Linked DNA regions of Homo sapiens: all the other regions are linked to region 1. The links are contacts of gene promoters, found by promoter capture Hi-C in blood cells and fetal thymus (Javierre and others, 2016). All regions are on one chromosome and are shown on one strand. The core of a region is centred on a gene start or on the middle of the fragment in contact, and the rest is flanking DNA. Distances in the headings are between cores, read along the strand shown.

Region 1 (4,105 bases), core at 633-3,132:
GAACTTTGCACTTATGGCCTCTCTGGGTAAGGCCGTCACATCCACCCCAGTGACTTGGACTGGGTCCTGCCCTTCCCCTTTTTTTCAGGGCATCTTTGTCCTTCCTACATCAGAGCCGTGGACACTGTCTCATTTCTTAGTGCCTGGAGTAGGTTCTGTGAGTGCTGGGCTTGGGCTGTTTGCACTCCTACTTTCTCCTTTTGAGCATTCCCAGCGCTTGCTGTCTCAGAGCCTTGCAGGCATGGATTCAGGAGTTATGCATTGTATTGTCAGCCCAGTGGGTCATATCCATCTTGTCCTTTCCCTGTCTGAATTCCTCTGTCTGTATCCATGACACCTCTGTGCCTGGGATTCTGCGCTCTTCCTTTAGCTGACATTTCCTGTGGCCTGCCTATGTCAGGAATTGTAGGGACCATTATGGTCGCTACTTGCTAGGACCACTGCACTATTCCTGCAAGACCTTACTCTGAGATTATTTTAATAATATTTAGTTTTCTATATGGGTTACCCAGACCAGTGCTGTTCTATCTTTCCCTTAGGACATACATCTTTCATGTCCCACATAGTTGCCTCACTGGTGATGGGTAGTGAGCCCTGGGTACCTGACTGGGTGGACATGACCCTAGCTGTTGCCACAGAGACTCCAGGTGGGAGTGACCCTGGTGAGTAGGAGCTGGGGAAAGGTGTGATGTCAGGGCTGGGTTCATATCATTCCATAGCCTCTTTGTGCCTACAGTTGTATTAGTGCTAAGGCCACTGGCCTTTCATACTCTGGCCTTTGGCCTCTGGATGTTCCATACCTCTGCCTTCATGTCTCACCTGTTCCTCTCCATGGCTTGTTCTACAGTGCCTTCCAGCATTGGCCTGTACTTAGTGTTTCATGAGATGTGTAGCCCAAATAGTCCTTAAACACCAACTACTGAGTAGCAATTTGATTTTCTTTGGTATGGACCATAACCTTCTGCACAACTCTCACCTGTCCCCAGCAGCCAAGAAAATCTGATTGTGAATGACTTTGAGACCTGCCTCTTTTTTGTGCTGTACCCCACATCTTTGTCCTCTCCCAGTTGAGGCCTTCTCCATTCTATGACATTTAGATGCCAACTACCGTATAGTACACATTTGCTGAACTTGAGTTTGGACCCTTGTCCTAACAACAGTCCTATGACCTTGGTCTTAGTTGTGTTAGACACATATTTGTAGTGAGGCTTCCCCTCTTCCACCTGTGTCAATTTGTACTTCACCAGCATTTCTCTGCTTTCAGGTTGTTGGCATGGAATGGAGGATGAAGAGATACCTTTTGAGCAGAGCTTTTCTATAGGAATGTCACAGATCAGGATTCCCAAGGGAGGTCCTTCTACTCAGAAGGCTTACCCCTGTGGGACATGTGGCCTGGTCTTAAAAGACATTTTGCACTTGGCTGAGCACCAGGAAACACACCCAGGGCAGAAACCATACATGTGTGTGCTGTGTGGGAAACAGTTCTGCTTCAGTGCAAACCTTCACCAGCACCAGAAGCAGCACAGTGGAGAGAAACCCTTTAGAAGTGATAAGAGCAGGCCCTTTCTTCTGAACAACTGTGCTGTGCAATCAATGGAGATGTCTTTTGTGACAGGGGAGGCTTGTAAGGACTTCCTAGCCAGCTCAAGCATTTTCGAGCACCATGCCCCTCACAATGAGTGGAAGCCACACAGCAACACCAAGTGTGAGGAGGCCTCTCACTGTGGAAAAAGGCATTACAAATGCAGTGAATGTGGGAAAACCTTCAGCCGCAAAGACTCACTTGTTCAACACCAGAGAGTCCACACTGGAGAAAGGCCTTATGAGTGCGGTGAATGTGGGAAAACCTTTAGCCGCAAACCCATACTTGCTCAGCACCAGAGAATCCACACTGGAGAAATGCCTTATGAGTGTGGCATATGTGGGAAAGTTTTTAATCATAGCTCTAACCTTATTGTACATCAAAGAGTACACACTGGAGCAAGGCCTTACAAGTGCAGTGAATGTGGGAAAGCCTATAGTCACAAATCTACACTTGTTCAGCATGAGAGTATCCATACTGGAGAAAGGCCATATGAGTGCAGCGAATGTGGAAAATACTTTGGTCACAAATACAGACTCATTAAACATTGGAGTGTTCATACTGGAGCAAGGCCTTATGAGTGCATCGCATGTGGGAAGTTCTTTAGCCAAAGCTCTGACCTTATTGCACATCAAAGAGTTCATAATGGTGAAAAGCCTTATGTGTGCAGTGAATGTGGAAAAGCCTTTAGCCACAAACATGTACTTGTTCAGCATCATAGAATTCACACTGGAGAAAGGCCATATAAGTGCAGTGAATGTGGGAAGGCCTTCAGGCAGAGGGCTTCCCTCATCCGCCACTGGAAAATTCACACTGGAGAAAGGCCTTAGGATGGGAGATAATTCCGTTTCCTTGTTCAACATAATAACTGACATCAGAGAGAAGCTCCAAGCATAGCCTTTATGTGTAGCCGACAGCCAGAAGTAGAACTTTATACACTCAAACACTCACCCTGGGGAGGTTCTTCCGAGTGCCAGCTATATGGGAAGCCTTCTGGAGCTATGCTGAATTTTCTAGACTCTTGCTGGAATTTCGTCAAGGCAGTGCCTGTTAGAAGCCATCTGTCTTTGTGCTGGAAGAGTCCTGCCTTGTGCCAAAGTAACCCCAATGTGTTTCAAAAGACAGACCTCTGTACTATTCCCTTCCCTGGAGGGAATCATCAGTAGCCTGAGGCCATCAAGGATTCTCACTTTTTTTCTGCCCCACTACTGGTTTAAGCATGAGCATGACCCAGTTTTAGCCAGAAAAATGGGAGCTTTGTTCTGCTGACCACTGGCAGAGGTTTCCCTTCATGGATATAGTTGATCTCACATGGCACTTGGGACGAATTTTTCTAGCCTTCAAGACACCTGACCTGAAATTGGCTGCCTCATATTCTGGTTTTGCAACAAATGCCTTAATTTTTAGACTATCTGAAATCTTGAGGATTCTGTTCGCTTTGTGGGTTGGGTTGAGAACAGAATTGAGCTAAGCCAGTATGAAGGGAAGAACAGCTTTTGTGAGAGCTCCAACTATCTGTATCTCTGAAGTGATAGTAGGATGGCAAAGACTAGCTCTTATGCTAGTGTCAAGCTAACTTACTTGACTGCTTCAGCTCTCCTAGGAAAGAATGCCAGTCTTTGTAGGCCTAATCTTTTGGTCTATATGTTAAGATTTTTTGTGTAATTGAGGTCACCCTAAGCAGTGGGCATTTGTTGTGATAATCTCTAATGTGTCTGGGAGCAACATGAATTACGTCCCTTGTTCCCAGAAGATACTTCATATTCCCAAGGCTTCTTGAGGAGAATTTGAACTCAGTGGACATGTCAAGATCTCTGAAGTCTATTTTTCAGTAGGCAGTTGATATTGGCTGTCCTCCAGAAGGCCCAGGTAGGAATCATAGTTGGTGCAGAAACCCAGATTAATAAAGGAATGAGAAAACTGCAGCAAACTATAGGGAATATGACCCTTCTAAAGGTACATCCACATGTGTTTCCATTACTCTGGCTCCATTATGAGGGTTTACAGAAATATTTCCATACCTGTGTCTCTTATGGCTAAGGTTACTGTCCAGAAGTCAGTCTAAACATTTTTGCAATAAACTGCACATATTTATAGTGTACCATTTGATAAGTTTTGATACATGTTGGCACTTCTCAAACCAAAAGTTTCCTGATTCCTTTTATATTTTCTCCCTTTCCTTCACCCATCCCCAGGCAACTATTGATCCGTTGTCACTGTAGATTTGTTTGTATTTCCTAGAATTCTACAGAGATAGAGTAATTTAATATGTATTCTAATGTTTTTGGCTTCTTAAACTCTGAAATTAAGGCTCATGGTGGTGTTCTGTGTTTCATAGTTCATTTCTTTTCATTTGTACTTTGCTAAGAGTGTTCCATTGTAGAGAAATAGTTTCAAAGCAAGTGATCCAGGAGAGAACTCACACAAGAACAAAGCCACAGTATCTGTCATTACCTTAAACTGAAAGTGATGAGCCGTCATTTCTGCTATATTTCATAAGTAACCCTAGCTAATCCTGGTTAA
Region 2 (4,105 bases), core at 649-3,148, 990 kb before region 1:
TGCATTCAAAGCCATCCTGGGCAGTGGGTTGGACAAGCTTAGTTTAAGGTATGGCTGTGAGCCAGGACCAAGCTCCCCATCCCAACAGCCACCTTCCATGATGTCCCTCAGACACTCACCCTCCTTCCCTGGGTTCTGCCCCCACCATCTTCAGATGGCACTTCCCTCACATGTCTGGGACCCCTCCCCTCTGCCCTCCCTGACCAGACCCCAGATGCCTTCTTGGCCTCCCCACTGGCAACGCCATACACAAGCAAGCTAGAACAAGTCCTGGCTGGGCCCTCAGCTGCCACACCAAGAGCAGCCCCAGGTGTCCACTCGTGACTCAGCATGACCACTCATGACCCTCCCCAGATGCACCCTTCCTGCTCTTGTAGCAAGAAACTGTGAGTCCCAGCAGGGGCTTCCCAGGCATACCCATCACTGGGACCCTCCCCTGCTGAGCCTGCTTGCCTGACATTTCCAGGCTGCTCATCCAGCCTGAGGGACTGGATGATTCTCACCAGTCGCCACAGGGGAGCAGCCTCAACAACCTGTGAACACAGAGGAACTCAATCCCTTCCTCCTTTCACCCGGTGTCCCCTTTCTTCCCCTCTCTGTTGCCACCCTCCCCTCCTCAGTTAGGTGCTAGGCTCTTCCCAATAGCCCCAGGCATCCCAGCTGGTCTTCTTTACCCTCAAGCCATAACTGCCCACACCTGGCTGAGTCCCTGCCCATTCCTCAGTCCAATTCATAGGCCCTGTCCACAGCCCAGGACGCCAACAACGTCAGGTCCAGTGACATGACCAACCTGGGACATCCCAGACTCTTGATCTTTCCCCTGAAGGAAACCTGCTTTCCTTTCAATTCTCCTTTCTATCTACAGCAGCTCTCTTCTTCCAGGCGCTCAGGCTGAACAACATGGGGTACTTAGTTCTTCAAACAGCCCACACCTGATGCATCCGCAGATCCACCAGAATTCACCTGGTCGCCCACCTCCACTGCTGCCCAGACTGTGGCAGTCGGTTCTTCCCTTCATGCCGACACCCCTGCATGTCTGTTCTCCACGCAACAAACGGTGGAACCGTTTTAAAGTCCTCAGAGGATGTCCTGATTCTGTTCAAAACTTCTATGTCTCCCGACGCCCTCGAGATAAAGCCCACTCCCTCGCCTGATACTGCAGCCGCACACATCCCCTCTACTCCAGCTCCACATCGAGAGAGCTCAGTCCCAGAAGCACCTGGGCTTCGGCTCCCCTCCCAGGTTTTGCACACGCAGGACTCTCCCCTCGGAGCCTCCTTCGGGACCTCAGCCCCCTGGCTGCCCGAACTCGGGAGCTCACCAGTGCCCTGGACGCAGGAGTTTGCACTGACCCCCGCAACCCCCCCAGGGCAGGGAGAGGAAAGACGACTAGGCGAGGTCTAGGAAGCGGCCTCCCTCCGTGAGGGCGCGGTCTGTGTGAGCAGGGACTCCCCTGCTTCCCCGACGCGGGCTTGTCAGCGCCACCGCCGCCAGCGGAACCCGCAGCTGGGAGGGAAGAAAGGCGTGGACCACCCAGCCTTTCCCCGCCAGCAGCGTCCCGGGGCCGCCCCGCGCCTCAGTCTCCCCGGCCATCATGGACGTGGAACGCCCAGCGCGCAGCCTCCTGGGCTGCCGCACGGTGGGAGAGCGCATGGCTCCCGCCGCGGCCCGACAGTCCCCTGGACGCCCACGACGCACTCTGAGAAACAGAGGCTTGGGGGCGCGGCCGGCGGCCGGCGCCCTTGATCACGACGCGTGCGCAGGGCGGGCCCGACGCGGGCCCTCAGCCAGTACCTTCCTCGCCGCCAGCCTCGAGCACCAGGAACCCCCTGGAAACCGGACCCGACCCGCGGTCCCCAGCCCAGACCACCGGTGTGGCCTGACGCGGGCGGCGAAGTGACAGTCCCACCGCCGGAAGTCCAGCCCTTCGGTTCTCATTGGCCCAGTGCGCGCCGCGGACGCTTGCGTACAGCCTTCCGGGTCACGTGGTTCCCGCCTGTTTCCCTGCGTGGAGGCGGGGCCACTACCGGTCTCCTTGGCAACGTCCAAGCCCCTGCCGCGCGGGGCGCTGGGAAATGGAGTCGCGCGGCGGCCTCGGGTTTTCAAGGGCTTGGTGGCGCTGGTGGATTCGCCCGGTGTGTAGTCCTGCCTTCGGCATTCCAGGTGTCCTCCCAAGCAGTCCCGGAGACTAAACCCTGCAGGTGCGAAAGCAGAAACTGCCGAGGTTCCAAGAGGCAACACCAGCAGTGAGCACGGAGGAGAAAATGCACCGGGTAGCGCAGGTGGAGGTGGAGGAGCCGATGCCTGGAGCTCCGGGTTCCCTTCCCAGCTCTGCCTCTCACTGACTGTGCGTCCTGGGCGCGGGTTTGACCTCTCTGTGTCAATGTCCCGTAAAGGTTTAAGGTCCGTTTTCAACCTTTACACCAAGAATTCTCAGCCCGTAAGCCTACATTTGTCTTAAGTATGAGACTGTTCCTCGACACTTGCCCAAAGCATCTGTTTTCCTTGTAATTTGGATGGGCAGAAGTTAATTCCCCAGATTTGCTTGTCCTTAGACCATCTAGATCTTGTCTTGCCCCACACATCACAATATTCATTCTTTTTTCCTTTTTTCTTGGGACTCATTTAAGTTTTTTTTTTTTTTTTTTAACAGGGTCTTTGTTCTGTTGCCCGTGCTGGAGTGCAGTGGCACAATCTCGGCTCACTGCAACCTCTGCCTTCAGGTTCAAGTGATCCCCCCGCCTCAGCCTCCGTAGTAGCTGGGACCACAGGTGTGCGCCACCATGCCTGGCTAATTTTTGTATTTTTTAGTAGAGATGGAGTTTCACCATGTTGGCCAGGCTGGTCTTGAACTCCTGACCTCAGGTGATCCGCCCACCTCGTTCTCCCAAAGTGCTGGGATTACAGGCCAATTTAAGTGTCTTTGACACATAAAAACGAAAGGCAGAGCAGTCTCAATGTAGACTGTCTTGTTTGGCAGATAATAAAAGGTTCTTTGTCTTGTTTTTGGAACCTGTAGACAGTTCTCAGCTGTCCAGTTCCTTAACTCTTTTTGCCTCCCTCCCTCTATACCTACCTCCATCTATAACTATCTCTCTGTCAACTGTCAGCTATAACTGTCCACCTAATTGATTCTACTTGTAAATCCTTGTAGAGCAAGGGAGCTCATCATGTTTGGAATGTTTTAATATAAATTTTGCTACTTTGAAAGAATTTAAGAACATTTCAGGACTGGGCGCAGTGGCTCACACCTGGAATCTGAGCACTTTGGGTGGCCAAGGTGAGCGATCACTGGAGCCTAGGAGTTTGAGACCAGCCTGAGCAACAAAATGTGACCCCATCTTTATAAAAAAATATAAAAATTAGCTGAGCATGGTCTTGCATGCCTGTAATACCAGCTACATGGGAGGCTGAGGTGGGAGGATTGAGTTCAGGAGTTGGAGTGTGCAGTGAGCTATGATGGAGCCCCTGCACTCCAGCCTGGGTAAGAGAGAGACCCTGTCTCAGGAAAAAACAAACAAAAACCCTGAGGGGGAAAAAAAAAACCCCAACACTTAGAAGTATTAAAGTTCAGGGCCGGGCGCGGTGGCTCACGCCTGTAATCCCAGCACTTTGGGAGGCCGAGGCGGGTGGATCATGAGGTCAGGAGATCGAGACCATCCTGGCTAACAAGGTGAAACCCCATCTCTACTAAAAATACAAAAAATTAGCCGGGCGCGGTGGCGGGCGCCTGTAGTCCCAGCTACTGGGGAGGCTGAGGCGGGAGAATGGCGTGAACCCGGGAAGCGGAGCTTGCAGTGAGCCGAGATTGCGCCACTGCAGTCCGCAGTCCGGCCTGGGCGACAGAGCGAGACTCCGTTTCAAAAAAAAAAAAAAAAAAAAAAGGAAGTATTAAAGTTCAAAAACCCTGAAGAAAAAAAACCCCAACACTTAGAACTATTCAAGCTGTGGCCGGGCGCTGTGGCTCACGCCGGTAATCCCAGCACTTTGGGAGGCCGAGGTGGGCGGATCTTGAGGTCAGGAGATCGAGACCATCCTGGCTAACACGGTGAAACCCAGTCTCTGCTAAAAAATACAAAAATAAAAGTAGCTGGGTGTGGTGGCG
Region 3 (4,105 bases), core at 776-3,275, 930 kb after region 1:
AAAGAAAGGGCCATGAGCAGAGTGCTGAGGCACACTCTGTTCAAGTCACGGAGGTAAGAACTGTGGCAAAAACTGAGCAGTCAGGAAGATGAAAGTCAGATGAGTGTGAGATCCCAGTAGCCAAGGGAAAAAAGGGGGCCTATTGAAGGACAGGGATGAGCTATTTGAGGGATAGGTAGCCACCTGTTTTGTAACTGAAGTTTTACTGGAACACAGCCCATCCATTCATTTACATATTGTCTTTGGCTACTTTAGCTCTATAAGAGCAGAAAGGAGTAGATGCAGCAGGACTTTCAAAGCCTAACATATTTTCTGCTGTGGCCTCATCCAGCACAAGTTTGCCAGCCTCTGAGCTATTTCAAATACCAATGATAGTCAAAAAAGACTAAGAATTGAGCACTGCATCTGGTAATGTGAAGATCACAGTAACCCACTCAAGAGCAGTTTGGGTAGGACAACTGGAAGCTGGTTCATCTGTACATATATTTTTTGAGGCCTCAGTGGAAGTGAAATGGTTCATCTATTAATGAGCTAGCTATGATATTTATAGGAGAAGCCAACCGAAACAAACACAACTATTTACTGGCATGTTTTAAAGCCACAAAATCAAGTGGAAAAGCCTTTCATATTGCGCCTCCTCTCCCTAAAATGTTGTCTTTCTTTACTGTGCCTCCCAAACATCTTCTCTCCCTTCAAGGCAAGGCTCAAAAATCACCTCCTTGGTAAATAGGCCTACCCTTCCGCTACAGGAGGCTGGAAGCCAGGAGCGCCTTGTAGTCCTCGCTCATAATACTTGGCCCAAGGATGATCACATTCTAGAATCTTGCTTGTTTCCTTGACATTGGGTCAACAGGCTGTGAGCTCCAGAGCAGGGACTAGGGCTTAGCTATTGGTTTGCTCAGTGGCTGGCACAAAGTGGTCACCAAACAAACCATGTATAGCAGAAGAGTCTGCCGTGTTCCTCAAGGGGCACAATTCCTCCATCAGAGTCCCTCTGAGAAAAGCGGTACAAGGGAGAGGCTGAATCATTTCATCAATCAAGAATGAAGGCTGATTGGGATGAAGAAGAAGCAGGCATCGAGGCCCCGGGCAGTTTAAACTTTTCCCCGTAGCCCATCACTTCACTAGAACGTGAAGAAATAGAAACCCGCGCCCAAACAGGTCTCTTAAACTGAAAACTTTCAAGAAAATAAGCAACATTAAGTCCCGAAAAGCAAGACTGCATTTCAGAGACAAGAGATGAAATGCCAACTCACCTGGGACATGGCTTTAGGTTCAATTCCTGTCCCCACAGCCTCCAGCTTCTTGTTTCTCTCCTGGGGAAGAGCAGTGTCCCTGGAAGGCAGAGCTGAAAGAGAAAGGAGTAGCTAGAGACCAGGTCTACACCACAGTCCCAAATCACCAGCCTAGAAACGTCCCTTCCTGCATGAAAAGGTGGGATCAGATCATTACCCTGCCTAGGGACTGCCACAACGTGGAGATAGGTTTTTTTCCTCCCTGGGAGCACGAAAACAGGAAAAGCGTCTAGTTAGAGTCACCCTGGGAAAGTCAACACCCTTTTACCGCGGCTTGCTGCTCTGAATCAGTTGAGCTTCCAAATCTTCAGATTCTCCCACTCCACCAGCTTCAAAGACCAGGGGCACAGTTCTCCAGCAACTGGTCCCCGAGAGCCCAACCCCCTCCCAGATCTCATCCCGAGATGAATTCGTCCCTGTCCGCTCGGCCCCAAACACCTGTCACTCTCACCTCTGTGCCCAGGCCCCGTAGGGGCCGCTCCTCGCTGGCCTTTGGATGCGAGGCCATTCCTTGAGCGCGGCCTTCCCCGGGCAGGGAGGGCCAAGGTGGCTGGAGTCCCTACAGTCGGGCCTCGGCCCGCCCGGGGCTTTGTGCGGGGGGCGCCTCTACCCGGGAGCGGCGTCGGCTCGCGGACACTCGCGCTCGCCGCCCCCCGCATGTCACCCGAGGCCGCGCGACGCCCTTCCGACCGGTCCCTCACAGACCCACACCCCTGGCCACACCCGCCCGCCACGCCCAGCGAACAGCCCCGCGCGCGCTCCCCCATGGCCCGGCATCCACTGGGCCGCGCCGCGGAGCCGCCCCGCCCCCGGCCGCGCCCCGCCCCTCCCCACCCCTCCCCGCTGCCCCGCCCCGCCCCGCCCCGCCCCGCCCCGCCCCGCCCCGCCCCGCCCCGCCCCGCCCCGCCCCTCAGCCTAGAGAAGCCCGGCGCTTCCCACTTCCAGTGCGCAGGCAGCGCCGCCGGAACCGGGCGTGGCCTCGGCGCAATGCCCGCTGGGAAGCGTAGTCCCAAGCAGGGACGGATGCGGCGGCCCTCGGAGCTCAGGTTGCAAGATACGGTTTGGCCCCGGGCCTATGCAACGCCCGTCCGTCCTGCCCTCTGCGGGTCGCTCTCACTTGTCCCTGGACCGCAGCCGCCGCATAAGTGGTGGCCAACGCTGGGCCTGGGTGTGGCCGGAAGCAGAGGCCGCTCTGACTACACACCCACCCCCCAAAGGCTTCTGGGAGTCGCGCAGGCGCAGCGGCAGACCGGGTGAGGCGGGGCTTGCGGCGAGGGGTGGGACCGCAGGGCCGGAGTAAAAGGGTGCTTGGCTGTGACAGGTGCTAAGGGCCTGGGCGTCAGCTCCTTGCGGGAGCGTCACTGCCGACCGGGAAGGGAAAGGCAATCTTGGGGGCCTCCGGAGTCCGGAGGATCACTCTGATGGGTGATGTGTGTGGGCTAGGAAGGGGGATGTAGAGAGCTTGTGGGATTGTTTTGGGTGCCCCCTCACCTTCTCCCATTATCTCTGGCTACACGGGCCTCCCATCCTCCAAAATACCATTTTCCATTTTGTAACCTATGTATTTGCACGTCCTGGGTCGAAATAGTCTAACCCCAAATTTTCGTCTGGGCTGGCTCCTTTATGCCATTCACTTGTCATCGCCTCAGAGAGGGCTGCCTAACGTCTCAAAAATACCAGCCCTGGCGACCTCTTAAAGTTCCCTTCCTGTGTGAATCACGGTCTGAAGTTAGCTGATGGATTTATTCTTGAACATGTTTAGGACCGGTCTCTCCCCCAGGGGCCTTATCAGAACTGGAGAGCTTCATCCTGGGAGCCAAGGGCCTTGCTGGCTCACAGGCAGTGATGCTGTTACACCAGTCATCACAGATGCACTGACCTCTGCACGCCCAGTCACACTGCACGCCTGGTCTCCTTACTCTTGAATTGATTTCTTTCAGGTCTCCTGGCCTCAGTGATGGAATTAAGATGACTTCTATCTCTGAATCCAAGGGTGACTGAAAGCCGCAAGCTGCAGAAAGGACAAGGTCAGCATTTCTCTCAAAGCACTTCAGTCTCATAGAAAAGGCTTAGTTTCAGTCAGGTGGACCTAGCCATGTAATAGCTGTGGCAGACACTGCTAATGGTCTCTCTGGTGTCTATTTTGCACTCCTTCCACAGCAGAACATTGATGCTCTTCAAGTGGCCATCTGCCCAGCTTATAATACTCACCTCCCCAGTCTCCTTGTAAGGAGTAGTGGCTCTGTAACCAATGAATTTTAAGTACACATTTGCTGGGGGTTTGGTGGATGTGTGGAAAGAGACACAGCTGGCATGTAACTCTGGCCTTTTGTCATCTCACACAACCTTCTTCCTGCTTGGGTATGACACAGGATGTCAACAGGTAGAACAGCTGTAGAGAGCTGGCAAAGGGATCGTGGCCAACTCAACATTCCACTGGAGGCTATATGATCAAACAGCAAACTGTTTATCATGAATGCAGAATGTGGGCAAAGTCGCTTCTGCTCCAGCCACCAGAAGGTTTGCTGAAGGCAATCACTCCCTGGTGTCATGCTCCTTGAGGTTATCTAATGGGACATCTAGAGCCTATTGGTTGACGAATGCAGTCTTGCAAGCCTGCTGTAAATCAAGCTACTGACCGACAACCACCCCCCTTCTCCCTATTCACTCTAATAAATACGAAGGGCTGTAAAGGCTCAGGGCCTGTGTTCACTGGAAGCAAGGAGCCCCCAGACCTCTTCTTCCAAATATACTCTTTTGTCTTTGTCTTTATTCCCATGTTTGTCATCCTTTGTTCAGTCCAACAAGGA
Region 4 (4,105 bases), core at 917-3,416, 890 kb before region 1:
CTCTGCCTCCCAGGTTCATGCGATTCTCCTGCCTCAGTCTCCCAAGTAGCTGGGATTACAGGTATGTACCACACACGGCTAATTTTTGTATTTTTAGTAAAGACGGGGTTTCACCATGTTGGTCAGGCTGGTCTCGAACTCCTGACCTCAGGTGATCCGCCCACCTCCACCTCCCAAATTGCTGGGATTACAGGCCTGAGCCACCCCACCCGGCCAATAAAAATTTTTTTAAAGCTAAAATTGACTCTCATGCAAATAAGATAAAATGAACATATGTTAAATATTTTAACTTAATGAGAGAAATAGTAAGATGTTACCAGTTACTTGATGATGGAGGAAAGGACGAAAAGCCAAGGAATACATGGAATGCAGCTCTAGGTGCTGAAAAAGGCAAGGAAAGGTTCTACGTTAGAGCTTCCAGAGGGAGCTCAGCCCTGTCAACATCTTGTTTCAGCTCAGTCATATCGATGTTAGACTTCTGGTCCCCAGAACTGGGCGGGAATATATTTCTGCTGTTTTAAGCCACCAAATTTGTGGTAATTTGCTGCATAACCACAGGAAACTAACACACCATCCCTCAGTTCTGCTTTTCTGTATGGACTCCATTCTCTTAACAGATTCATCCTTCAGCGGGGCAAGAAGGCTGCAGCTGCCCCAGCTGACAGATGCTCACAGCCTCAGGTTCAAAGCAGATAGAGGCCCTAACAGTTCAGAGAGAAGTCCCACGATGCTCACAGGTCCAAAGTGACCACTGCCAGGGCCAGAGGGATGGACTGCCCTGTGCTGTGGACCTGGGCCATGTACCCACACCTGCCCAAACCACCTGGGCTGAGGTGAGAGCTCCCTAGTACAAATTGGGAAAAATTGGTACAAAAAGAGCTCGTGGAGGCCGGGTGCAGTGGCTCGGGTCTGTAATCCTAGCACTTTGGGAGGCCAAGGTGGGAGGATCACTTGAGCCCAGAAGTTCAAGACCAGCCTGGGCCATATAGCGAGACCCCGTCTCTAGCTATTCATTTATTTTAGCTTACAGCATCTGGTCTATGTTGTTTTTTGAGACGGAGTCTTGCTCTGTCACCCAGGCTGGAGTGTGCAGTGGCACGACCTCAGCTCACTGTAACTTCTGCCTCCCCGGTTCAAGCGATTCTCCTGCCTCAGCCTCCCGAGTAGCTGGGATTATAGGCACACGCCAACAAGCCTAATTTTTGTATTTTCAGTAGAGACGGGGTTTCACCATGTTGGTCAGGCTGGTCTCGAACTCCTGACCTCGTGATCTGCCCGCCTCGGCCTCCCAAAGTTCTGGGATTACAGGCGTGAGCCACCGCGCCCGGTTTATTTATTTATTTTAGCCAACAGCACTCGGTGTTCCCAGACGGTCTCCCAAGTACTAACCAGGCCCGACCCTGCTTAGCTTCTGAGATCCCGACTCAATTTTTTTTTTTTTTTTTTGAGACGGAGTCTCGTTCTGTCGCCCCAGGCTGGAGTGCAGTGTCGCGATCTCGGCTCACTGCAAGCTCCGCCTCCCAGGTTCAAGCGATTCTCCTGCCTCAGCCTCCCGAGTAGCTGGGACTACAGGCGCCCGCCACCACGCCCGGCTAATTTTTTGTATTTTTAGTAGAGACGGGGTTTCTCCGTGTTAGCCAGGATGGTCTCGATCTCCTGACCTCGTGATCCGCCCGCCTCGACCTCCCAAAGTGCTGGGATTACAGGCGTGAGTCACCGCGCCCGGCCCCCGACTCTATTTTAAAAACCGCGTGGATTCCAGCTTGGTGGGTGTTCCACAGCGCGTGGGTGTGAGACGCAGCTCAGTGGCGTCAACTCAGCAAGGTTCCAGGGTGGTAAAGACGGCCTGGGGCCGGAGGAGGACCGCCAGGGAGAAGCTACGTTGGCCCGACTTGCGTCCGCGACCCGGGCAGCCCCAGGCGCCTGTGTAGCTGTTGGGTGTGTGCCGCAGAGGCTGGCCGGGTGCAGGAAGGGGCGGAGCGCATCCATGGCAACGCAGGACGCCCGAGTAGCTTGGCTGTGGCGCCGTCCCCATGGGAACCAGAAGGCGCGCGCCCGCAGCCGCGGCATAGTTACGCAGGCGCAGTGGGGAGAAACGCGACGCCTTGGGCCGCTCTGCCGAATGCAACCGCGCCCCCAGGAGACCCGGTGCCCGCCCTCCTACCATTCCACGCGGCTCGAGCCCGCGTGCGGGCCTCTTTCAGGCCGCTCCTAGTGGACGCAGAGGCGGGCCGAGGACGGTGAGTGACGCCGACGGACACCCTCGGCCAGGCACAGATCCGCCCTCCGGCTCCAACCACTCCCGCCGCGCGGGGCAGGACGGGCCTCGGCCCTGAGCTGGGCCCTCTGGGACCACCGAGAGATAGGCCTCCGCGCCGTCCAGAGCGGCCCGGAAGTGGCCCTGCACGGGCCAGAGGCGACCGTGGTCGGGACGGAAATGGCTCCCGTTTGCTGTTCTCTCGGTGAACGCGAGCCTTATGGCGATCAGTTCTGTGGCATCGTTCCTCCTGCTCGTTTATTCTTTCACTCATTCACTCATGCCCTGCCGCGCCATCATTTCTTCCCACATTCATTTATTCGTTCATCAGTCCCCAGCCCCGGGTAGTTTCGGAGCTCACCAGGCTGGGCTCGCCTCCCAGCCTCCGGAGCTGCCCGCACAGGCCTCGCGCCACCTGGCCGCAGCTTCCTCCCCTTTATCCACTCCGTATTTGTTTGTCCAGCCTAGGCCTTGGGGGTTGTGGGGGAGACACAAGTACCCGTGACTGGTCGGACAAGTGCCCGTTGTTGGGGGCGTGGGCGCTGGGACTGACGCGGGAGGTGGCTCTGATCATGTCGAGGTGAGGAGGAGGCGTTGAGGCTCAGAAAGGGCACGCAGCGTGGACGTGAGGACGTCGGGGAGGCTGGAGCAGTGAGGCCGACAGGAAGGACCTTACGGGGCTCACATGCTATCCCACGACGAGGACGGACTCAGGACGGCAGCCCTGATAGATGCGGCTGGGGGCTGGCGGGTCGGGGTCGCACACCACAGGATGGAGGGGCAGCGGTGCCTGGCTCCGCCTTAAGAAACATGGGCCCTTGGGGGACCCGGATTTCTGATACTTCAATACACAAATATGGATTTTTATTGAAATCAGATGTCGTTTTTTTAAAATTTAACTTTTGATTTGAGGTAATTATAAATTCACATGCAGTAACAAGTAATGCATACCCTATGTACGCTTTACCCAATTCCCCTAAAGGTGGCATCTTGAAAAACTAGAGGCCAGGTGCGGTGGCTCATGTCTGTAATCCCAGCACTTTGGGAGGCCAAGGCGGGTGGATCCCTTGAGCTCAGGAGTTAAAGACCAGCCTGAGCAACATGGTGAAACCCCATCTGTACTGAAAACACAAAAATTAGGCGGGTGTGGAGGCTGGTGCCTGTAATCCCAGCTACTCGGGAGTCTCAGGCAGGAGAATCGCTTGTACCCAGGAGGCGGAGGTCGCGGTGAGCCCACATCACGCCACTGCACTCCAACCTGGGCAACAGAGCGAGACTCTGTCTCAAAAAAAGAGAAGAGAAAGAAAAACTAGAGTACAATATCACAACTGAGATGCAGAATATTTCCATCACGAAGGATCCCCGTGTTGCCCTTACAGAGCCGCATACCCTTCCCTCCTACCTCTGCTCCCCGTTAACCTCTTTTTGTCAACTAGTAATCTGTTCTCATTTCTACCATTTTGTCATTTTACGAATGTTGCATAGGCTGGGCGAGGTGTCTCGCGCCTGTAATACTAGCACTTTGGGAGGCCGAGGCGGGTGGACCATCTGAGGTCAAGAGTTCAGGACCGGCCCACCGGCCGGGTGCCGTGGCTCACGCCTGTAATCCCAGCACTTTGGGAGGCTGAGGCGGGCGGATCACGAGGTCAGGAGATCGAGACCATCCTGGCTAACACGGTGAAACCCCGGCTCTACCAAAAATATAAAAAAATTAGCCGGGCATGGTGGCAGGCGCCTGTAGTCCCAGCTACTTGGGAGGCTGAGGCAGGAGAATGGTATGAACCCGGGAGGCAGAGCTTGCAGTGAGCCAGGATAGCGCCACTGGACTCCAGCCTGGGCGACAGAGCA
Region 5 (4,105 bases), core at 465-2,964, 800 kb after region 1:
TGCTGCCTTACATCCCCTTCTATCCCTCCTCCCATCCACACACACAGGCACCCACCCACACCAGGTCTGCTTGTTTCTCACATGTAGGGAGAGGGGGGGAGACCAACCCCTTTGTGTCTTTTGAAATACGAAGAAAAATGTGTGTTCAGGAGCATGACTCCAGTGCTGGGCTCTTGGGCCCAGTTCAGTCTGTCTTGTCTCAAATCTAGGCACTTTTGCTTCAATTTTATTTTTTTTAAGAAAACAAAAACAGAAATCTGCACTAATTTACCTGGTTCTTAGGAAAACTTTTTTTTATTTTTTACATTTTTTGGTGTCCGTTTGTATTGAATAATTTGCTACATTTGTAAAATGTAAGAGGTATATATAATATATGTATATTTCTAACGTAAAAACAATTTTTTTCTTTTCAAGATTTTTTCTTAAAAAGATGAGAGAAACATATTTTTTCAGGAAAAACAAACTTTAAAAAAAAAAGAGGAGAAATAAAACCTTTTCTCCCCTTTCCCCATCCTCTATCTATCCCTGTTTCCCAGGAACAAATCAAAAGGTGGATTATCTTCTGAAGAATGGAAACTGTTAGTCCAGAATGATGTCTTTTTCTCAATGCAGTGAGTTATAGATTCTCTAGTTTTCTCCCTAGGGATGGGAAGGGGGCATTGACGCAAGCCTGGAGAGGAGCCCGGGGAGCAGGGTCATGAAGTTTTTTCTTCAGTGAAGGAGGAATACAATCAAGGGTTTTGTATTCAGAATGTTGTGCAATATTTTGGAATAGGACATTGGTGTGTTTAGAGATTTTAGTTTAAAAACAAAACAAAAAGATTGATCAAATCTGTACAGTTTCTATTGTTCCAGATTTTTTAAAGTTTGTATTAAAAGCATGATACATAATAAAAATAAATAAATAAATAAAACTAAAAAGTAAAATGAAATTCTTCATCTATGTTAATGGATTTGCCACCTTCTTTGCCATAGACTGGAATGACATCAGCTACCTGAGACCAAAATAAAAGTGTGGGTTGCAAACCCTGGCACCTACCTTTTTAGATTCCGCAGCCTGCAGTAGGGACTTAGCCTGTCTGAACCTCAGCTTCCTTCTTTCTTCTTCTTTTTTTTTGAGACGAAGTCTCGCTCTGTCACCCAGGCTGGAGTGCAGTGGTGCGATCTCAGCTCACTGCAACCCTCGCCTCCCAGGTTCAAGCCATTCTCCCGCCTCAGCCTTCCAAGTAGCTGGAAGTGCATGCCACCATGCTCGGCTAATTTTTGTATTTTTAGTAGAGACGGGGGTTTCGCCATATTGGCCAGGCTGGTCTCGAACTCCTGACCTCAGGTGATCCACCCGCCTCGGCCTCCCTAAGCGCTGGGATGACAGGTGCCCGGACTCAAGTTCCTTCTTTCTAAGCCTGTGGGCTCGGCCTCATCCCCTGAGCAAGAAAAAAGTCCCACCCCTGAGTTACTGGAAGCGCCCACCGCCATGCACTGAGGCTGTAGTGGGCGGGGCTCGGGGCAGCAGCCCGGCGCTCCTCGGGCCCCCAGGGGTCAGCGCCCTGCGGACCTAGCGTGTGCAGACGCTTAGCCTTCTGGGAGTTGTAGTTTCGATGACCCAGGCTTTGCAAGCTTTAGTCGCGGTGCCGGCGAGCGCGCAGCGCCCCCTGGGAGTCGTAGTTCCTAAGAACCAGGCGGGCCCGATGCGCAGGCGCAGTCCACCCCGGCCTGGTGCGCGGGCTCCTCCGCAGCAGCAGAAGTCTTGACCTTAGCTCGTCTAAGGAAGGAGGCACCAGGGTCTGCGTTGGCCCAGGAGGACCCGAGACTGAGTAGAAGCGGAGCCGACTGCACCAGGCTAGGAGGGGGCCGGCCAGCGCGTTCGAAGGTGATACCGGGAGGCGAGAGCAACGGTGTGTAGTGTGCGCGTGTTCCTGCAGGTGTGTGACCGCGTGTGAGCCCGTCCCCGAGTGCCATTGTGTCTGCACCTGTTCACTTAGCGGTGTCAGCCCGTATAGGTGTGTGACTGCCTGTGAGCCCGTCCCTGAGTAACACAGCGTCTGCACCTGGTCACTCGACGGTACCAGCAGGTGCAGGTGTGTGACTGCCTGTGAGCCTGTCACTGCATCTGCACCTGCTTACTCGGCGGTGCCAGCCCGTCACTGTGTCTGTACCTGCTCACTTGGCGGTGCCAGGCCGTGCAGGTGTGTGACTGGCTGTGAGCCTGTCCCTGAGTGTCACAGCGTCTGCACCTGCTCACTCGACGGTACCAGCAGGTGCAGGTGTGTGACTGCCTGTGAGCCCGTCCCTGAGTGTCACAGCGTCTGCCCCTGCTCACTTGGCGGTGCCAGCCCATCACTGTGTCTGTACCTGCTCACTCGGCGGTGCCAGGCCTTGCAGGTGTGTGACTGCCTGTGAGCCCGTCCCCGAGTGTCACTGTGTCTGCACCTGCTCACTCAGTGGTGCCAGCCCAGGCAGGTGACTGCAGGTAAAGGCATGTAACACTTTATCGGTGTGTTATGTGCTCGTTCATGTGAAGCGGTGTCTGCATATCACAGCATGTCACATACACGTGTGGCTGCCTTTGGGCAAGTCTGAAAGTTCTCCTGGATGTGAGGTGTGTGACCCCACGTGTGCATGTCTGGGTGTGCCGCCGTGTAGGCTGGCTCGGCCCGTGTGCCTGCCAGCACAATGATGGGTGACCTGGCTGTGCGAGCCTGTAGAGTGCCGTGCTGTCTGAAGTGTGTGCATCTGCACATGATGGAGACGCTGCACATGTGGGCTTTGGCTATGCTGGAGCTCTATCCACCGAGTGTGACTGCACATGTGTCCAGCCATCCCCTGTGGGTGTGTCCCAGTAATGGCCGGCCTGTGTGGAGCAGGTGGCATGTGTGACCTTGTGCGTCTCTGTGCACCTCTTCACACAGGGAGCTACGTGTGGGGCTGGGTGTGTGTGTAGCTACGTGTGCCCGGGACCCTGTGTGCATGTGTGAGTGTGGCTGCAGGTGATGGCTTCCCACCTGCCTCCTTGCATGGGGGTTAGGAGGGCGACTGTGTGTCCCTGGATATGGGTTTGGGTGTCTCTGCATGTCTGTGTGTGTCTGGGCAGGTATGATTGTGTATGACCCTGTGTGTGTCAGAGTGTGATGTAATGCATGTGTCTTCCTGTGATCTTGTGATATAATAAGAAATATATGTTTAATCTTTATCCCCAGCTCCTGGTACCAGAGCCCCTAAAACCCTTGGAATTTCCTGAGTGACAGGGGTAGAAGGAGTGTCTTCTGCAACTCTTAATAAGCCCCCTGCAACCACACCTGTGTTTATGCTAATGGAGGACTCCTGATAGGCCCCCAAGTACATTTATGCTAATGGAGGACTCCTGATAGGCCCCCAAGTACATTTATGCTAATGGAGGACTCCTGATAGGCCCCCAAGTACATTTATGCTAATGGAGGACTCCTGGTAGGCCCCCAAGTACATTTATGCTAATGGAGGACTCCTGATAGGCCCCCAAGTACATTTATGCTAATGGAGGACTCCTGATAGGCCCCCAAGTACATTTATGCTAATGGAGGACTCCTGATAGGCCCCCAAGTACATTTATGCTAATGGAGGACTCCTGGTAGGCCCCCAAGTACATTTATGCTAATGGAGGACTCCTGATAGGCCCCCAAGTACATTTATGCTAATGGAGGACTCCTGATAGGCCCCCAAGTACATTTATGCTAATGGAGGACTCCTGGTAGACCCCCAAGTACATTTATGCTAATGGAGGACTCCTGATAGGCCCCCAAGTACATTTATGCTAATGGAGGACTCCTGATAGGCCCCCAAGTACATTTATGCTAATGGAGGACTCCTGGTAGGCCCCCAAGTACATTTATGCTAATGGAGGACTCCTGATAGGCCCCCAAGTACATTTATGCTAATGGAGGACTCCTGGTAGACCCCCAAGTACATTTATGCTAATGGAGGACTCCTGATAGGCCCCTAGGATGGGCTGGTTGCCACGGGAGCTAGCCCTGATGAGCATTCCAGCCTTCAGCCAGCCCCTACCTCCTGGGAGGGGAGAGGGCTGGAAGTTGAGTTCATCACCGATGGCCAGTGTCATCACACCTATGTC
Region 6 (4,105 bases), core at 775-3,274, 560 kb before region 1:
CCATGGGGGGCGGCCAAGTGCTTTGTGCTGTTCATACTTCTCTGAATCTCCTCCAAATGGTGTCGGGCTCCCATGTGACCTTCATCAACATGGAAAAACAAAACAAAACAAGACATCTTTAGGAAGGATTTTTGACCATATGGGAAATGCTTATGACAAGTGAAAAGGAGGGATTCCATGGGATTTTTCCCTCTTCATCCTCTGCTGCATTTTTCATACACTCTGCAGTTCTCGTGCATCTGGTTTTACAATCCAGGAGAAAGGAGAGGTGCAGGGTGGCAGAAAGGCAACTCACGGGGACTGTGCCCAGCCAGCCATCTTCGAGTCAGCGTACCCGGCCACCTGCACCCTGATTGGGAAACTACCAGCTTGGTCTTCCCTGCCAAGGCCACAGGCAAAAATGCTCTCTTATGTTGTATTCACACTTTTATATATGTAGTTTTGAATAAGAAAAAAGGGCCTATTTTGAAGCTCCACAGGTTCAAGAAATCCCTTTGCCCTGGGGCCTCAGACCTTATACTCTCTCAGGTGCTCATGGCAGCTCACCCTGGAGACTCTAGGGAGGGGGGCTGTAGCCCCTCAGCATCCTCCAGGGTCCTGGGCTGAGGTCTGTGGGAGGAGATGCTAAGTTTATCAGGGATGAGGGTAAAGAGGAGGTCTTAGCAGAAGGCACCAGAGGTCCATGGGTGTGTCTGGGGTCTATATGGGGGCTGATGTGGAACACCTAGGCCAATGTGGGGGTACCTGAGCTGATGAGAGTCCTGGACTGATGGGTGGCTGTTTCTGGAAGATGAAGAGGGCCTGGGATGATGTGAAGGGGACTGAGGTCTACATGGCTGGTGAGGAGGATCTGGGCCCCCCCATGGGCAATGCTGTGGTGGCCCTGGGGTCCTAGAAGTCTACTTTGGTAGGGGTCTCTGATTAATGTTGGGGATGTGTGTGTGTGAGAGAGTGTCACTTGGAGGGCTCAGTGCCTGTGGAAGGGCCAGGTTCACCTGGCATGGGCACTGAGATCTGCAGCCCGAGCCCCAAATTCTATTGCGGGGATGGGCAGAAGGGCTTTGCCGCTGATGCCGGATGCTTAGTGACATAGAAGACGTGTTCACTGCGCCAGTCAGTGAATGGTTCTGGCTTTGAGAAGGGGGCTTACAGTGGGGAGGGCGTTGGGAGCTTAGGATGCCACACGGAGGAGTTCCATAATAAACGAGCTGGGGAAGTGTGCAAGGGCAGCGCACTGGGAATACAGGGGAGGGGCAGCGACGACGGCTGTGGACGGCTGGTTGGGGGGAGGATGGTGGGGTGATTGGGTGGGGGATGGGTCGGGGGCGGCTGTTCAGGAGGGAGATGGGCCTGGGGCGGGGAGGGGGAGCTTGTAGGGAGAGAGACGGGTCGGGGGCTGCTGTTCCAGTGGGGGATGGGCCCAAGGGGCCGGGTAGGGAGGGAGATGGGTCCGGGGGCGGCTGTTCAGGAGGGAGATAGGTCCCGGGATGCTGATCAGGTGTGGAAGGGAGAACTTGGACGCGGCCGAGCGGTGTTTGGGCGGGCAATGGGGGTACGTAGAGGGGCTTCGGCCTCAAACGGACAGGCGGATGCCAACAGGGGTCGGGGTCCCTGCGGAAGGGGCGGCCCCAGCCCCCCCAGTCCCCGCCCCGCGTGGCCTCTAGCCTTCCCCTTCCCTCCCCTACGGCGACCTCAGGACTCCCGATGGGCTCTGGAACCCCGGCCCGGCCCGCCCCCTCCCGGGCCCGGGCCCGCCTCCCCCGACGCGCGCCCCTGGACCGCGATCCCGGGCCAGCTCCCGCCGACGCGGCGCCGAGACCCTCCCGGGTGGGCGTCCCGATGGACGCTCTGGCGGGCGGAGGGACGGATGGGCCGCGGCGGACTCACCGCGCGCGGGCTTCGCTCGGGCCTGGGCCACTCGGTCATGGCGACCCCTGGGCTGGCGAGCGCGCCCAACGCCGCGGGCGGACCCCATCCCCGCACCCTGCGCGCCGCGGGCGGCCGCCATTGGTCCGCTGGATCACGCCGGGCGTCGGTGACAAGTCACCGCTGCGGGACTCCCGGGCAGGGGCGGGGCTGTGACGCACGAGGCGGCCGAGGCCAATCAGAAGCCGCCTGGGATGAGCGCCCCGCCCCCGCCGTGCCCTCCAGTTACCTCGGGCCGCGGTTCCAGTCGCCTTGGCAACGGGTCGCGCAGCGTCAGGGACGCTGCTGCGGAAAGTGGAGACGGTGGCGGCTGCGGGGATGCGCATGTACGATGGGGCCGCGGGGCAAAACGACGGCATTCCAGACACGCAACCGTTTTATACAGTGTCCAAGAGTAGTATGTTAAAACATTGTTTTTAATATAAATATGTTTAGTACAAGTATGTCCCAGACTAGGATCGCCACTCTTAGCAAATAAAAATACAGGACGTCGGCCGGGCGCGGTGACACGCCTGTAATCCCAGCACTTTGGGAGGCCAAGGCAGGCGGATCACGAGGTCATGAGTTCGAGACCAGCCTGACCAATATGGTGAAACCCCCGTCTCTACTAAAAATACAAAAATTACCTGGGCGTGGTGGCGCATGCCTGTAATCCCAGTTTCTCAGGAGGCTGAGACAGGAGAATCACTGGAACCGGGGAGGCGGAGGTTGCAGTGAGCCGAGATTGCTCCATTGCACTCCAGTTTTCCAGCGTGGGTGACAGAGCGAGACTCCGTCCCCCCACCCCCAAAAAAAAGAAAGAAAAAAGAAACCTCAGTTATATGTAAACTCAAGAAAAACAAGGAGGCCGGGCGCGATAGCTCACGCCTGTAATCCCAGAACTCGGGAGGCCGAGGCAGGCGGATCACCTGAGGTCGGGTGTTTCAGACCAGCCTGGCCAACATGGTGAAACCCCGTCTCTACTAAAAATACAAAAATTAGCCAGGCATGGTGGTGCGTGCCTGTAATCCCAGCTACTCGGGAGGCTGAGGTAGGAGAATCGCTGGAACTGGGGAAGCCGAGGTTGCAGTGAGCCGAGACCTGCCAACGCACTCCAGCCTTGCCTGGGCAACAGAGTGAGACTCTGTCTCAAAAAAAAAAAAAAAAAAAAAAAAAGAAAGAAAGAAAAAGAAAAACAAGGAATTAGTATCAATGTGTCCTATATTTCATATACTTTAACGAAACCTTACATAAGAACATTTCATATAAATAAGTTTTAATATTAATGTCTACAATGTAACCATGTGCCAGAATAGTAGGGTTCCACAGATACTCGTTTTGTATCTGAAATCAGGTGGGGGTGAGATCATGATGCAAGGAGGGTCCTCAGCTCTGGGACTGAGCTCAGGATAGCTGAAGCTGCTCATTGCTGAAGAAGAAGCAGGAGAGTGTGAGCTAAGAAAAGAGAGGAGGACCCACCTCCAGGGGGTCCAGCATCTGCTGGACAGCTGTTTATTGAGGGCCTATGTGTACCAGGCACTGTTCTGGACACTGGGGTGGGAGCACATCAGTGAGAGGGACTGATAGGGCTTTAGTCCCTTGGAAGCCCATGTTCATGGGGCAAACACCAGTAAACAAAGCAGATGCTTCATGGAAATATAAATACCTAGAATAAAATAAAACGAGGCCTGGAGATTAAGAGTCCCAGGAGTGGCAGGGAGGGGAGGGGCTGCCTCAGCTGGATAATCAGAGCCGTGTCTCCGCATCTTTGCTGCTGGCGGCTGGTCCCTGGAATGTTGTGTGTGAATGCCACTTTGTGCAGAAACCACTATGGGAAAACCAAATTAGGGTGCTAAGGGCTTATTATTCTCCTTCTTGAAAATTAGGCACTTGTAATGACATGGTTCATTTTCTTGGTAGCTGAAATTGGCGTGGCCCTTTGGGGCAGTGAAGGCTCATGTGTGCATTTATAACTGCCACCCATTTGGGAAATCTCCCTTGAGAGAACACTGACTTAGTCTGTCTCTAGAGTCTGGATCTAGACACCATCATAGGCCACCTGGTAACTCTAGATCCATTGGGAGGCAGCCTGGTGTCTAGCAGAGGTTTCAGTTTTTTTTTGTTTGTTTGTTTTGTTTTTTTTAAAAAGAGTCTTGCTCTTGTTGCCCAGGCTGGAGTGCAAAGGCGTGATCTTGGCTCA

Evidence for each region. The method cuts DNA at HindIII sites, captures the fragments that hold promoters and counts their contacts. A CHiCAGO score of 5 or more calls a contact.
Region 2: a contact is called between the fragment with the promoter of ZNF324 here and a fragment that was not itself captured in region 1, in 12 of 17 cell types (naive CD4 T cells, total B cells, total CD4 T cells and 9 more). The highest score is 13.9, in naive CD4 T cells.
Region 3: the fragment with the promoter of ZFP28 here is called in contact with a fragment that was not itself captured in region 1 in 4 of 17 cell types (neutrophils, naive CD8 T cells, fetal thymus and 1 more); the score reaches 7.8 in neutrophils.
Region 4: a contact is called between the fragment with the promoter of ZNF497 here and a fragment that was not itself captured in region 1, in 13 of 17 cell types (non-activated CD4 T cells, naive CD8 T cells, naive CD4 T cells and 10 more). The highest score is 15.3, in non-activated CD4 T cells.
Region 5: a contact is called between the fragment with the promoter of ZNF835 here and a fragment that was not itself captured in region 1, in 11 of 17 cell types (neutrophils, naive CD4 T cells, monocytes and 8 more). The highest score is 10.2, in neutrophils.
Region 6: a contact is called between the fragment with the promoter of ZSCAN1 here and a fragment that was not itself captured in region 1, in 1 of 17 cell types (fetal thymus). The highest score is 5.2, in fetal thymus.

The regions. Positions count from the first base shown.
Region 1 is chr19:57,471,581-57,475,685 of GRCh38, reverse strand. ZNF772 (zinc finger protein 772) reads left to right here. Exons shown (of 4, transcript NM_001144068.2): 3 at 1-26; 4 at 1,265-4,105. The coding sequence ends at 2,412. Among named protein-coding and RNA genes, the nearest start is that of ZNF772, 3.9 kb to the left of the region's middle. The HindIII fragment of the contact is 6,834 bases long and covers 1-4,105 here.
Region 2 is chr19:58,464,873-58,468,977 of GRCh38, reverse strand. It overlaps ZNF324 (zinc finger protein 324), which reads right to left and starts at 1,898. Exons shown (of 4, transcript NM_014347.3): 1 at 1,795-1,898. RefSeq lists enhancers at 398-517, 936-1,550, 1,551-2,167 and silencers at 1,649-1,778, 1,859-1,908. The HindIII fragment of the contact is 6,014 bases long and covers 40-4,105 here.
Region 3 is chr19:56,536,868-56,540,972 of GRCh38, reverse strand. It overlaps ZFP28 (ZFP28 zinc finger protein), which reads right to left and starts at 2,025. Exons shown (of 8, transcript NM_020828.2): 1 at 1,747-2,025; 2 at 1,257-1,348. The coding sequence starts at 1,954. It overlaps ZFP28-DT (ZFP28 divergent transcript), which reads left to right and starts at 2,239. Exons shown (of 3, transcript NR_183967.1): 1 at 2,239-2,548; 2 at 3,236-3,322. The HindIII fragment of the contact is 11,931 bases long and covers 1-4,105 here.
Region 4 is chr19:58,360,812-58,364,916 of GRCh38, reverse strand. It overlaps ZNF497 (zinc finger protein 497), which reads left to right and starts at 2,166. Exons shown (of 3, transcript NM_198458.3): 1 at 2,166-2,240. ZNF497-AS1 (ZNF497 antisense RNA 1) reads right to left here and starts at 2,291. Exons shown (of 3, transcript NR_136527.1): 1 at 2,165-2,291; 2 at 318-381. It also overlaps the pseudogene RNA5SP473. RefSeq lists enhancers at 2,472-2,601, 2,331-2,879. The HindIII fragment of the contact is 6,825 bases long and covers 1-4,105 here.
Region 5 is chr19:56,669,366-56,673,470 of GRCh38, reverse strand. ZNF835 (zinc finger protein 835) reads left to right here and starts at 1,714. Exons shown (of 2, transcript NM_001005850.3): 1 at 1,714-1,895. LOC105372473 (a long non-coding RNA gene) reads right to left here and starts at 1,492. Exons shown (of 4, transcript XR_936110.4): 1 at 1,040-1,492. The HindIII fragment of the contact is 4,177 bases long and covers 1,620-4,105 here.
Region 6 is chr19:58,031,944-58,036,048 of GRCh38, reverse strand. It overlaps ZSCAN1 (zinc finger and SCAN domain containing 1), which reads right to left and starts at 2,024. Exons shown (of 6, transcript NM_182572.4): 1 at 1,888-2,024; 2 at 38-79. The HindIII fragment of the contact is 10,205 bases long and covers 1-4,105 here.